3 separate regions of the Homo sapiens genome follow, and regions 2 and 3 are each linked to region 1. Evidence: promoter capture Hi-C in 16 types of primary human blood cells and fetal thymus (Javierre and others, 2016). All regions are on one chromosome and are shown on one strand. The core of a region is centred on a gene start or on the middle of the fragment in contact, and the rest is flanking DNA. Distances in the headings are between cores, read along the strand shown. Region 1 holds the start of HSPA4L (heat shock protein family A (Hsp70) member 4 like). Region 2 has its middle 5.8 kb from the start of INTU. Region 3 overlaps ABHD18 (abhydrolase domain containing 18).

Region 1 (4,240 bases), core at 1,626-4,125:
GGCTGGTCTCAAACTCCTGACCTCAGGTGATCCGCCCGCCTCGGCCCCCAAAGTGCTGGGATTACAAGCGTGAGCCACCCCGCCCAGCCGGTTTACAGGCTTTTCTTACCAAAACTATCAGAAGGGAACAAAAAAGAGGAAACCCCTTTGGCTTCCTCTATGAGGCGATAATCTTGACGCCAATAAAAAGAGTAAAGAAAGAAAAAGGCCAGTTTCATTTATGAATATAGATGTAAAGATCCTTCATAAAATAATCACAAGCCAAAACAATCAGAACCATCATGGCCTTTCTGGTTTATCCCAGGGATACAAGGATGTTAGAAAACTCTAGTAACGTTATTCATTGTATTAACAAATTAAAGGGCAACAAACAGGTCATTAGATGATGGTTAACATTTGTTAAGTTTCAGTATCCACTTACAGGCGTGTGAGTGGATTTTATGAGAAAAATCTCTTAGCAAAGTAGGAATAGAAGATAATTTTGTTAACTTTCTTACATCATAAACACAAAGGTATTTAATGTTAGGGACAAGACAAGGATGCTTACCACTACTGTTTATTTTCAAAATTTTACTGGAGCACTTAAGCAACATAATCCAGGCAAAACAATAAGAAACAGAAGAAATAGAAATGAAGAAATTCATTATTTCCCAGGCCATATTGTTCTATACACAGAAAATCCAAGAAATTCTGCAAATACTTGAATTTAGAATACAGCAAGGTTGCTGGATACATGACCAATGTACATGAATCAGGATCATTCAGCAGCTAAGCATAGCTAGCATTTATTGACCGTTTGGTGCCAGGGACTGATGCAGTGCTTACATTATTTAATCATAAAAACAGCCCAGTAGGCATATTTGTCCTCATTTTAACAGACTGAACCTGTGGCTTGGAGCATTAAGTAACTTGCCAAACGTTATACAGGTAGTAAGTTAGGCAAGCCTGGTACTACAACCCAAATCTGTGTGACCCCAAAGCCCGTCATGGTTTTAACCACTGGGTACTCTCACGTCCTGCCAGTAATTGTAAGGAACGTGATGATAACACCACTTTGCTCCTGGCCTCAACTTCCTTTTTACTTTGATATTTTAAGTGGTATTTTTAATAGGAAAAAAAAAAAACATTCTTACACCCTCAAGTTGTATAGACAACATGGATAAACTAATGGAATTAAGATAAATTAATTGTACTAGGAGAATTTCAGGATATTCTGGAATAAATCTAGATAGTGATGGCCGATGTCAGAAGAGGTGTGTGAGGAGAACTGGTGGAAGTCACAGGCGCCCAGCAGGACCAGGGCCCAGGGTTCAGTCGCAGGGCAACGCCCAATCCCTGTTCTGCTCACGAGCTGCCCGCTGGGACGCCGAGTTCTGCGGTGTCTCAGAGCGCAGCTTCACCCAGGGGCTCCACGTCTCCTGAGTGCTCATGAAGGGAAGAGAGGCCTGATTGATTTCTTCAATGTAGAGACCAGAGCCCAAGCAATACTGTACAATCCAGTTGCCTCAGTATTGCCCTTGAAAATGGATTTCACGTTCATTCTAACAGCAGCAGGAACTATAGCCACCCTTGCTGCTGCTGCTGCTGTAGCAACATTATTAATAGTAAAAAATCTAAGTTATTTAAAGAAGTGGACAACTAGGGATAATCAGAATACTAAAGAATCTAGTAAACAAAACAAACAAACAAAAAAACACGCCTGTTTTCAAGATGGATACCAAAATGGAACAGGAAAACACACAAAGAATTGGATGAGAAGGAACAGAGACTAGATGAAGAGGACGGGGAGGAACAGGGAACAGACCAAGGACTGGCAGAGAAGGAACAGGGCACACACGTAAAAGTGAACGAAAAGCAACAAGACAGCCAAATTTCTTAAGTGTAACATAAAACTTGGTTAATTACAGACAGGCAACACATGCCGATCAAACCAAGAGGGAGGGCGCTGGACCACACTGGGCTCTTTTTTGAGGACCACAGGGCAGCGGCTGGAGGCTAAAGCACAGACTTGGCTGGTGTGAGTGGCACACTTAATTAAGGTCACTTTCCTGTAAAACTGGTTTCCAGAGACAAGGGTCAGCGGCGGGGCCAGCATCTTTTAGAAAGGTGTGAGGAAAGGTACGTGGAGGGAAAGTTGTCAGTGTGATCTTATTTCTTGACAGAAGTTTGACTTTTGATATTTCAAATCCTGCTGATGAAAAAAGAAAAAAACCTAACATGTGCTCATCCCGCTTTCGCACAAGAGTCTGTCCCGGGCTCGGCAGCTCCCCCGGGGCTGGACAGGGCGGAGCGGCGGACGTCGGACAATGCGCGCCACCTCACAGAGCCGGGCGCGGCGGGCCTCCAGCCACAAGGGGAGGGCGCCGGGCTGCACATGGGCCCCTCGGGGAGGCGAGGCCTGCGGGCGAGCCCTTCTGAGGGCAGGGGGTGAGGGGGCGGCGCCCGCCAGCCAGGACAGCATCCTGCCGCCGTGACAAGCACGCCTCCGGTTGCCAAAACAACCCAAAAATGTGCCTCAAAACACGTTCGCAAAGCCCCGGGCCGGCCGGTCGCCTGCCTCTCACCTAGCCCGACCGCCCGACGTCCTACTGCCGAGCGAGGGCGAGCAAGCCAATGTGCCTAGCCTCCTTTCCCCGATCCTCCCCGCCCCGCCTTCCCGCTTCTCCCGCCCCCGGATAGCTCAGCAGCCTCCATTTTCCAGATCTTTCTCGAACCCGCAGCTTCTTGGGCAGCCGTTGCCCGAGTGCTGACGGAAGCGGCCGAAGTCCGGGCCCGGAGCTGGCTCGGGCGCGGAGCGGAGGCTCGCGCGCCTCCCGGGCAGCCGAGCGCGCAGGCGCAGGTCCCAGTAACCGCCGGTTGGAGGCGGCCGAACCGCAGTAGGGAAAGACCCAGGCTGCGGGACGCGGTGCAGGCTGCGGCGCTGACGGCCTCTGCTCCTTCCGCGGGTTTCCGACTCCCTGCCCTAGATTTTCTGCTTAGCGACTTGGGGTCCCCTCTCGTTTGCTTCTGGTAGGAGTCGCAATCCCAGCAGCAATAGCCCAGAAGAGGACACGGTTCCCGTACCGAAGGGTTCAGTACCAGCAGCCCGACCATCACGCGGCGGGATGTCTGTGGTTGGCATTGACCTCGGCTTTCTCAACTGCTACATTGCTGTCGCGAGAAGTGGCGGCATCGAGACCATCGCCAATGAGTACAGCGACAGGTGTACCCCGTAAGTGCCTCTGCTGAGCATCACCTCGACCCTAAGAAACGTTTTTCTCTCCCGTCCTTAACGTTTGTCCTGTCTGCTCGCTTCCTCGGATTTTCCCCTAACGTGCGCCGAACCCCGAGATGACAGGTGCAACCCGTCAACCGCAGTCCCTAGAGACCGCCGGGTGGCAGTCGGACTTCCTCGCCCCGCAAAGCTTCTTTTCCTTCAAGGACGAGGGACCGCACTAGTTTGCGCAGCTCTCTTTTCTGTACCTACGCACGTCCCCTGCCTCGTGCCGCTGTCCCCCAACGCCTCTTTTGCTTGCGAGGAAGAGGTTGCTGTGGGACAGCCCCTGGCGTCCGGAATATTGAGAAAGATCTCCGGTTGCCTCTAACGAGGTTTACGTGGGATTATCGGCCCCGCGCCAGCTGCCCTCCTTCCTTTCCCCGTCCCTCTGGGTGACAGCTTTTTCTCAGAAAAGTAAAAAGTCAGCTTCGGCTGCACACGTCAGAGATGAATTGCAGGTTCATCTGGCCCCGAAAGCCTTTTTTTTTTTTTTAAGGGCGGGGAGTGAGGCATGTGGGGTTTTACAAAACCCAGTGCCCTTGAGAACTGCAGGTAATGGAGCCGGTTTACAGGGCCAGGTCAATGGTGCATTGATAGGGAGAGCCTCGGGATGGGAGTCACTGGCCTTGTGCATTGGTAACTACGTCAGTTGCTGGAATGCGGCGGGGTTGGGTCGGACCAAAAGCGTGTTTCTGCAGAGTGAATTGCCGGAGTCGGGGGCAGCTGTCCCGTATAAACATGACTGTGGAGTGATTCTATTATGAACGCTTAATGAAAGGCTTAGGAGGAGCGGCGTTATGTCATGGAAACATGTTTCCACATGTTCCGTTGTTTCTCTGGCCTGGGAAGTTTGTTGGCAAGGAATATAATGAAGTAATTCTGAAATATGAAAAACTAGTTGCTGCTTATAGGCTGCTGTTACTGGTAATTTTATGAGGAAACCAACTGTATGAAACCTATATTACTTTTTATGGAAAGGTAATT
Region 2 (4,670 bases), core at 212-2,711, 160 kb before region 1:
ATAAACCAGGCAAAAGAATATGTTTAAGCTATAGTCATCAAGACTGAGATGATTATTTCGGAAGTAGTGGAATATTTTTAGAATAACCTGCTCAGTATTACAATGAAAAACTACTTTATCTGAATTACAAATAACTGCTCCCATATGCTGGAGGAACCAATGGAATCTGGAACTATAAATATGTTTGTCAGTATCATGGCTAACAGTGCTTTCTTTTTAACATTATACGAAAATCTTTTTGCTACTGCAATGCATTACTCTTATTAGTGGTTATTTATTATTTAATGTTTTCAAACACGCACTTAAAAAACTTAGACATCTGTAGAGGTTTCTCTTTCATTTAATGCATCTGTGTTTCACACAAGTTCACATCTAATCAAATGTCTTTTGCTTGTATATATACAGATTTGTTTAGGCATAATATTATAGAAATTAGGGAGATTTGATAACCCTTAAATCATACTTGTACTTATCATAGTTCTCATGAAGTATATCAATGCATGGCCTATTTTAAAAGTATTACTGTTACAAAACTTTTATGTTTTTCCTTTAAAACATCCATCGTAAATTATATACAAAATTTTGGCAATTGCATTAAAGAGACTAGTAGCCATGTTATTAAGAGAAAATAACAGACTGTTTTATTTTAACGTGTTACTTTAAAGGGTAAGTCTTGTGAGTGTGTCCTTTTTTAAATTACTTGTATATTTTCCATTGCAAATATGGTTTTTAAAATGTAAAGCATTAAATTGCTGTGCTTTTGAAAAAGATACTTCAGCCAAACCAAAATTAAAGCAAAGCTGCAAACTTTTCTCTGCATGAGGTGCTAACTTCAAAATGTCAATTGTAAAATAACAATAGCTCAGCAAAATAAATTTAACTATTCTGCTTTTTGAAAAAAGTTACACATAAGTTGTCTGAGTCAAGGAAAAGCATCAGTATTGTATTTCTCAGTTACTTAAGTTATTTTTCTGTCATCTTGATTATAAGAAATAACCAAACAATACTATTAATACTCAGTATTTTGCAAATTTTTTTAAAAAAACATATGCACAATACTATTGCAAATTAATCATTTCCTTGGAGTCCTAATTCCTCTGTTGCACAGTAGTTGTGTGACTTGGCAAGACTTTTAACTTATTTATATTTTCCCCTGTTCTTTCTGTAATATAAAGGGATAATACCCACCTCACAAGGTGTTGGTGTGAATTTCTGATGATATGGAAGTGCTTTATAAAACTAAAGTTCTGTCAAATATAAGGGATTATGGTAACAACTGTTCTATAGTAAAAAACTAAAACAAAACACAAAATGATAGTTCCTAAAGATTCTGAGAAGATTCAGCCTGGTGACTTTGCCCAAGGCCTAATAGCTAATGAATGGTGCTGGTCCAGGCTGGAGTGCTGGTTTTTTGACCCCTAAGCCAATGGAGAGAGTGAACTAGAGGTGATTCTCAAAATTTTTGACGACCCAAATTTCATACTCTTACCAAAGGTGAAAATATGCAAATTCAAAATACCGCAACTATCCAGAATTCTCAGGGGGTATGCCCAATTAAGTAATATTCCTGTTAGTAAAAGAGTATGTAATATCTTTTTAAGATCTAAAAATAAAAACTAAAATGAATAATTAAAAAAAACAGCTTTTGAAAATATAATATAAAGTACACACTGCTCTGTTTCTTAAGGTATAAGGCATTAGATTTCAAGGGTTATCTCATTTGATTTTCAGCAACCCTATAGAGTAGGCAGAGATTATTATTGCTGCCTTCAGATGAGGAAACTGACTTTGTCCACTTCCACTTGGTTATTGGTGCCAAAATCAGGATGAGAACTTGGATCCCCTGACTGGAGAATGCATGGCACTTACAGATTATCAAGTGTTTTTTACAGTCGATGTCAAATTATTGTAGGATTCAACAATGCTGTGAATTTTTTTGTTTTAGGTGCTACTTAGGTCATTTGGCAGTTATTTATAAACTATGGTTTTTTGTTAATTCTCATGTCTGCCTTTTGTTTTCTACTTTCCTCTTCATCAGCAGATTGTCAGCCATCAACAATTTCCAGGGTTGTTGTATTCCTGTTTTAAGGGAGCCTTCTTTCCTTCTGATTGGCAGCTATTGATCTATAGTGGTAGAACAGCTTGCCAAACTTGTTATAATTTGTAAATGAAGATCTAAAATGAAAAGAAATAGGAGTAAATGAATTGGGTTTTGGGCTTGAGCTTTGTGCCATCTATTTTAGTCTCACTTGTGCTTCTGGATTCTCATCTGTATTCCATTACTATTCAAATGTGGAATATATGGTCTTATTGCAGGTAAGTTGTATGCATTTTAACAAGTAATTCAACTTTTATAGAGGGAAATGAGAATTTTAGACCATAATGCAATTCTGTACCTTTAGGATTGCTGAAATGTTATTTTGATATATAAACTCTGAAATCTGAAATCTTCTACATAATAAAGTCTCACTTTCTAAAATGCTATTTTGTTGGTCTACCAAGTTATTTATTCATATTTTAAAAATAATTATGGCTGTCATTATTACCACATAGTTCATAAAGTATTATTATTTCTGTGTTCACAATTAAGGCAATATTAGTTTCTAACAAAACTCTTACATAATTTTTACCTTGTAGTTTAAATTTTTAATGAATATGACCTCATGTGGCCCTATTTTCATTTACTTCTCATTGCCAGCTTCTATTACTACTAGAGAAAGAGCTCCTGAACCTGCTAACGATACTAAATATTTAATTATGTCCTTTTCTGGTGTATTTTATGTCAGAATTGTAGTTCGCCTAATCAAGATGGTAATCTATGGAAATAAGGATGTCAAGTCTCATATGCATTAAATTAAACATATTTGGGCTTCAGAAGATGGCTGGTCATTTTGTAGTGGAAAAGAGAAAATGAAAATATACCCCAGTCTAAATCTCTTAAATCTTCTTGCAATTGCTAATTATGAAACACACAGAATATTCTTATAAAGGCCCTGAAAATGGCATCCTATTCCTTTCCTTTCTTCATCCTTTCAAAAATATCTAAGCTTATTAAATATTAGCAAGGTTAGTAGAAATATGATATGTAAATTTAGAAATATGACTAATTGATACTACAACCTGAAAATTAAAATAAGGATAAAAATGATTGCTATTATTTCTTCTTTGATGAAAGATAAAGCGAGGTGGTAAATTTTGTTGTTGCTCACTTTTATCCATTTAACTAACACATGGAAGTAAATTAGCCAAGGGAGTTAACGTAACTCAGGAATATAGCTAACGTCCTAGCAGGTATACTTTCATGTGGCATTTTTTGCTCCAGTTCAACCTTGTGACAAGTGAAAGACTGAAGAGAAAAAAAAAAAAAAGACCCAGTCAGGTTCTCCAGGAGATTGTCATTTGGTGGCAATGATAGATGTATTCCTATTTAATTTAGATATAAGACAGACTGATATTAGTTATAACCTAATTTTATGGGATAGATTATGAGGAAAGAGTAGAAAAAGGAATTCTTACTGAGGTAGGAGATGTGTCTAGGAGGGCTTTTGGGAAAAGGTGCTGTTTGAATTGGATCTTGAAGAAAGGTGTAGTATTTCAACAAATGAATTTTGGGTAAGTATCATTCCACAGTAAGAGAACTGTGTGAGTAAATGAGATAAAATAGCTGTTTTATTGATGCTTTATGTGCTAGGTACTTTACATGCATTAACTCATTAGATTCCAAACAGTCCTGTGAAGTAAGTACCATTTTCTGAATTTACAGATAAGGAAAGTGAAGCTTGTGGAGGTCATTTGCTCAAGGTTACGTGGATGATGGATTCTAGAACAGGGAGAGAGGTCTGTCTGCCAGGCTTAAATTCAGGAGGTGGAAGTGGGTTCCGGCCTATTCAGGGAATGACTAGTGGGCCCGTATGCATGAAGCACAGAACTGAGGGAAAGTTTAGGGCAGTTTCTCAAGTTTGCTGAATCACTGGGGGCACTTGTTTAAAATAGAGATTTCCAGGCCCCTCTCCTGGAGATTCTGATCCTGTTGATGTGGAGCAGGGCCTCAAAATCTGTATAACAAGCTCCAGTTGATTCTTTTGAATAGACAAGTTGATCAGCTTGATTAACTTACGATGTAACATGGAATAAACCATTTAATTCTGAATTGGTGTTCAATTGTTTGTAGAATTGGAGAAAAAAATTTAAAAGAAGCTACACAGTTTGGACTTTGTTCTCTATTTAAGGAGGTGCCATGCAAGGTTTATGAGGCAGGGTATGAAACTACTAGATGCTTACAAAAAAAAATTGATGAAAAATTTGTAGGAAGAAAATGTGATATTTTCCTAAAATTTGTAAATGTCCTTTTTTAATTTCTTATTTTATTTTTTACTTCCAATAAGTTGCTTTTAAAACAAGGAAAGGTTAACTTATTAAAGAGGTAACTAAAGCACTTTTTATTTTGAAATGGAATCTTAAATCATTTCTAATGTTTAAGATTGTGGTGAAAGTAAGCATATATATTTTACCATGAAACTCAAAATAATGAGTATAGGGACTCCAGCTTTTTAAAATAATATTGTTTCTCTGATTTTAAAAGTAATACATTTTTTGTTGGATCTCAATGCTAATGGAAATATTTGTTTCCCTTCCTTCCTGTCTCCACTTTCTTCAAACTTCCGACCCCA
Region 3 (4,129 bases), core at 1,404-3,903, 190 kb after region 1:
ATCAACTAGAAAGCTCCACCAAGGTTTAGTGTCCATAATTTTTACTGGAGTTTCATTAATAGGCATGATTGATTGAATCTTTGGCCATGTGATTGAACTCACTTTCCAGCTCCCTTCCCCTCTGTGGAGGTCAGAGGGTCCCAAAGTTCCTTTCTGGTGGCCAGCCCTGATTCTGAAACTTTCAGGGGGCCCACAGGGAGTTGCTTGTTTAGCATAACAGACACTCATCACTTAAGAAATACCAGGGGTTTTAGAAACTTCATGCCAGGAGCTGAGGTCAAAGACCAGATATACTCTTTTTTTTTTTTTTTTTTTTTTTTTTGAGACAGAGTCTCGCTCTGGCTAATTTTTGTGTATTTTTAGTAGAGACAGGGTTTCACCATGTTGGCCGGGCTGGTTTTGAACTCCTGACTTCAAGTGATCCACCTGCCTTGGCTTCTCAAAGTGCTGGGATTACAGGCGTGAGCCACCGTGCCTGGCCCAGATATACTCTTTATTATTCCAGAGTGACATGCCCTCTACAAGAAAAACACTAGTCAAGCAATTTATATACTACATATACTTACATGATTGTAATTGCACTAAAGTAGAAAATATATAATTAAGACGCATTTCAGAAGTTAGTTTGCCTTTTACCATTTGTTTCATGATTAAAAAAATTCTAAGAGGCAAGTGTTTTTACTTTGTTTTGGTTTTTTTGTTGTTGTTTCTGACAAAGGTGTTAAGTGAATGAAAATATATAAACATGATTTAGACAATCTTTTCTCTCCCCTACCCTCCCCACTCGTTTCCTTTCTTTTCTTTTCTTAGACCGGGTCTCACTCTGTCACCCAGGCTGGAGTGCGGTGGTGTGATCCTGGCTCACTGCATCCTCTGCCTCCTAGGCTCAAGCAATCCTCCCGCCTCAGCCTCCCGAGTAGGTGGGACTACACAGGCACACACCACCACTCCCGGGAAAGTTTTGTATTTTTCATAGAGGCAGAGTTTCCCCATGTTACCCAGGCTGGTTTTGAACTGCTGGACTCAAGCGGTCCTCTCACCTCAGCATCACAAACTACTGGGATTACAGATGTAAGCCACCACGCCTTGCTGATTTAGACAAACTTTCAAAATTTGCTTATAAACAAATGTTTATTCAAGTCTGTGGAGTTTGGGGGTTTTTTTTTCCCCCTTACTGGTAGGAAAATGTGAAGAAAGTAAGTAACACCTGTTATTGAGGGTGTCAGCCCAGATACTCTACTCAAATGCTGAGAAGTATAATTGGTTTCTCTCAGTGTAGCAGACAGTTTCTAAGGTGGCCCTCAAGATCCTCAAATTCTGATGTTCATATTTTTGTGTGATCCCCTTCCTTGAGTTTGGGCAGAACCCATGATTTGCTTTCTAACCAGGCATATGGCAAAGGTGATTGGCTGTTATTCCCATGACGACATTATGTTATATGGCAAAGGTATGGCTCCTGTGGCTCACACTTATTTTCCTGCTGGCCTTGAAGAAATAGCTGCCATGTTGTGAACTTCCTATGAAGAGAGCCATGTGACAGGGGGCTGTGGATAGCCTCCAGGAGCAGAGGCTGGCCTCTGGCTGATGAACAGCAAAAAAAAAAAAAAAAAAAAAAAAAAAATTGAAGCTCATAGTCCCACAGCCACACACAAAAAAAATGAATTCTGCCTTCAACCTGAGTAAGCGTGGAAGTGAGTTCTTGTCTCTTCAAGCCTACAGATGAAAATGAAGCCCAGCTGACACCTTGATTGAAGCCAGATGAGGTTCTGAAGCAGAAAACCCAACTAGGCTGGGTTCTTGGAAGATAATCCTCAAGGAAAAGGGAAGAAGATGGAGGAAACAAACTAGATGCAAGAGATTTGTTCTTCAAATTATATTCTTTAAAGGTCTTAGTTATTAAAAGCTTCCAACTATTTAAATTATGCAATGGTCTTTTTTGAAGAGAATATTAACCTTAAGTTCTGTTTTTTTTTTTTTTTTTTTTTTTTTTTGAGACAGAGTCTTACTCTGTCGCCCACGCTGGAGAGCAATAGCACTATCATAGCTCACTGCCACCTCACTCTCCTGGGCTCAAGCTATCCTCCTACCTCAGCCTTTTGAGTAGCTGGGACTACAGGCGCACACCACTATGGACCACTGCACCCAACTGTATTATTTTTGTGTGTGATAAGGTCTCACTGTGTCACCCTGGCCTGGAGTGCAGTAGCCATGATCTTGGCTCACTGTAGCCTCTGCCTACTCAGTTCAAGCAATCCTCCCACCTCAGCCTCCTAAGTAGCTGGAACCACAGCCATGCACCACCACATCTGGCTAATTTTTTGTATTTATTGTAGAAATGGAATTTCACCATGTTGCCCAGGCTGGTCTTGAACTCCTGGGCTCAAGCTATCCACCCGTGTCAGCCTCCCAAAGTGCAGGATTACAGGTGTGAGCCATGGCATCTGGCAAGTTCTGTTCTGAGATAAATAGTGAACTACTTCTGGCTGGGCGCAGTGGCTCACACTTGTAATCCCAGCACTTTGGGAGGCTGAGGAGGGTAGAGGGTGGATCACCTGAGGTCAGGAGTTCGAGACCAGCCTGGCCAACACGGTGAAACCCCGTCTCTACTAAAAATAACAAAAATCAGCTGGGTGTGGTGGTTGTCGCCTGTAATCCCAGCTACTTGGGAGGCTGAGCCAGGAGAATTGCTTGAACCCAGGAGGTGGAGGTTGCAGTGAGCCGAGATCGCGCCATTGCACTCCAGCCTAGGCAACAAGAGCAAAAACTGTGTCTCAAAAAAAAAAAAAAAAAAAAAATAGTGAACTACTGCTTACTGACAAAGTTGTCAAAAGGAAAAGAAAGCATCAATTTACTTCCCCTCAAAATTTTATTTGGAGACTCAACCCCAAATTCTATTTTGTTTTCTCAGTTTTTTTTCTTGTGGTAAAATACAGTAACAAAATTTACCATCTTAATAATTTTAACTCTATAGTTCAAAGGTAAGTATATTTATATTGTTGCGCAACTGTATCACCACCATCCATCTCCAGTTTTCTTCTTGCAAAACTGAAACTCTATACCCATTAAACAGTAGCCTCCCCCTTTTCCCATCCCCCCAGTACTGGGCAACCATCCTTCTACTTTCTGCTTCTATGAATCTGACTACTCTAGGTATCTTGTTTAAATTGAATCATACAATATTTGTCTTTTTGTGGCTGACTAATTTCACTTAGCGTAATGTCCTCTGAGTTCATCCATGTTGTATCATGTGCCAGAAGTTCCTTCCTTTGTATGACTGAATATATTCCTATTGTGTGTGTGTTTGTGGTTGTTTGTATGTACATACTTTGCTTATCCATTCATCTGCCAATGGACACTAAAAGCTCCCACCTTTTATGTATTTATTTATAACCTAGGAAGTGAAGAAGCTTCTGCCAAATTCTAAATTTTATGGAGGAAAACAAATCATGGCTGATTAGATAACTAGTGTTTACTTTAGATAGAATATTAATTTTAGGTCTACTTTATGGCATATAGAATTTTTTTAAATCAATATTTGCATTATATTTATGCCCATTTTATAGGGTTGGGATAATTTACTTATTTATTTTACTTTATTTTATTTTATTTATTTTATTTTGAGATGGAATCTTGCTCTGTCACCCAGGCTAGAGTGCAGTGGTACAGTCTCGGCTCACTGCAACCTCCGCCTCCCAGGTTCAAGTGATTTTCCTTTCTCAGCTTCCTGAGTATCTGGGATTACAGACATGTGCTGCCACACCCAGCTAATTTTTGTATTTTTAGTAGAGATGGGGTTTTGCCATGTTAGCCAGGCTGGTCTTGAACTCAAGTGATCCGCCTGCCTCAGCCTCCTAAAGTGTTGGGATTACAGGCATGAACCACCACGTCTGGCCTGTAATTTTAATCTAGTGATTTATAGTTGTATCTTTACATTTATAACATTAGTGTTATATTTGTGTCATACCTATGATTTATTTGATTTTCTAACCCAGGGGTCAGGAAGCTATGGCCTATTGTTCAACCTGCCTGTTTTTCTATGTCTTTCAAGTTAAGAATAGATTTTACAGGTGAACATTTGTACCCAATTTCATTATGGGGTACTAACTTTGAATCTCAATTAAGCAAACGC

The links. The method cuts DNA at HindIII sites, captures the fragments that hold promoters and counts their contacts. A CHiCAGO score of 5 or more calls a contact.
Region 2: a fragment that was not itself captured here is called in contact with the fragment with the promoter of HSPA4L in region 1 in 1 of 17 cell types (erythroblasts); the score reaches 6.3 in erythroblasts.
Region 3: a fragment that was not itself captured here is called in contact with the fragment with the promoter of HSPA4L in region 1 in 1 of 17 cell types (erythroblasts); the score reaches 5.0 in erythroblasts.

The regions. Positions count from the first base shown.
Region 1 is chr4:127,779,447-127,783,686 of GRCh38, forward strand. It overlaps HSPA4L (heat shock protein family A (Hsp70) member 4 like), which reads left to right and starts at 2,876. Exons shown (of 19, transcript NM_014278.4): 1 at 2,876-3,211. The coding sequence starts at 3,105. RefSeq lists silencers at 2,237-2,406, 2,687-2,756 and enhancers at 2,897-3,046, 2,946-3,938, 3,547-3,626. The HindIII fragment of the contact is 4,318 bases long and covers 1-3,402 here.
Region 2 is chr4:127,624,848-127,629,517 of GRCh38, forward strand. No RefSeq gene overlaps it. Among named protein-coding and RNA genes, the nearest start is that of INTU, 5.8 kb to the right of the region's middle. The HindIII fragment of the contact is 3,167 bases long and covers 1-3,045 here.
Region 3 is chr4:127,972,225-127,976,353 of GRCh38, forward strand. The region is part of intron 1 of ABHD18 (abhydrolase domain containing 18); the gene reads left to right. Among named protein-coding and RNA genes, the nearest start is that of ABHD18, 8.9 kb to the left of the region's middle. The HindIII fragment of the contact is 1,504 bases long and covers 1,902-3,405 here.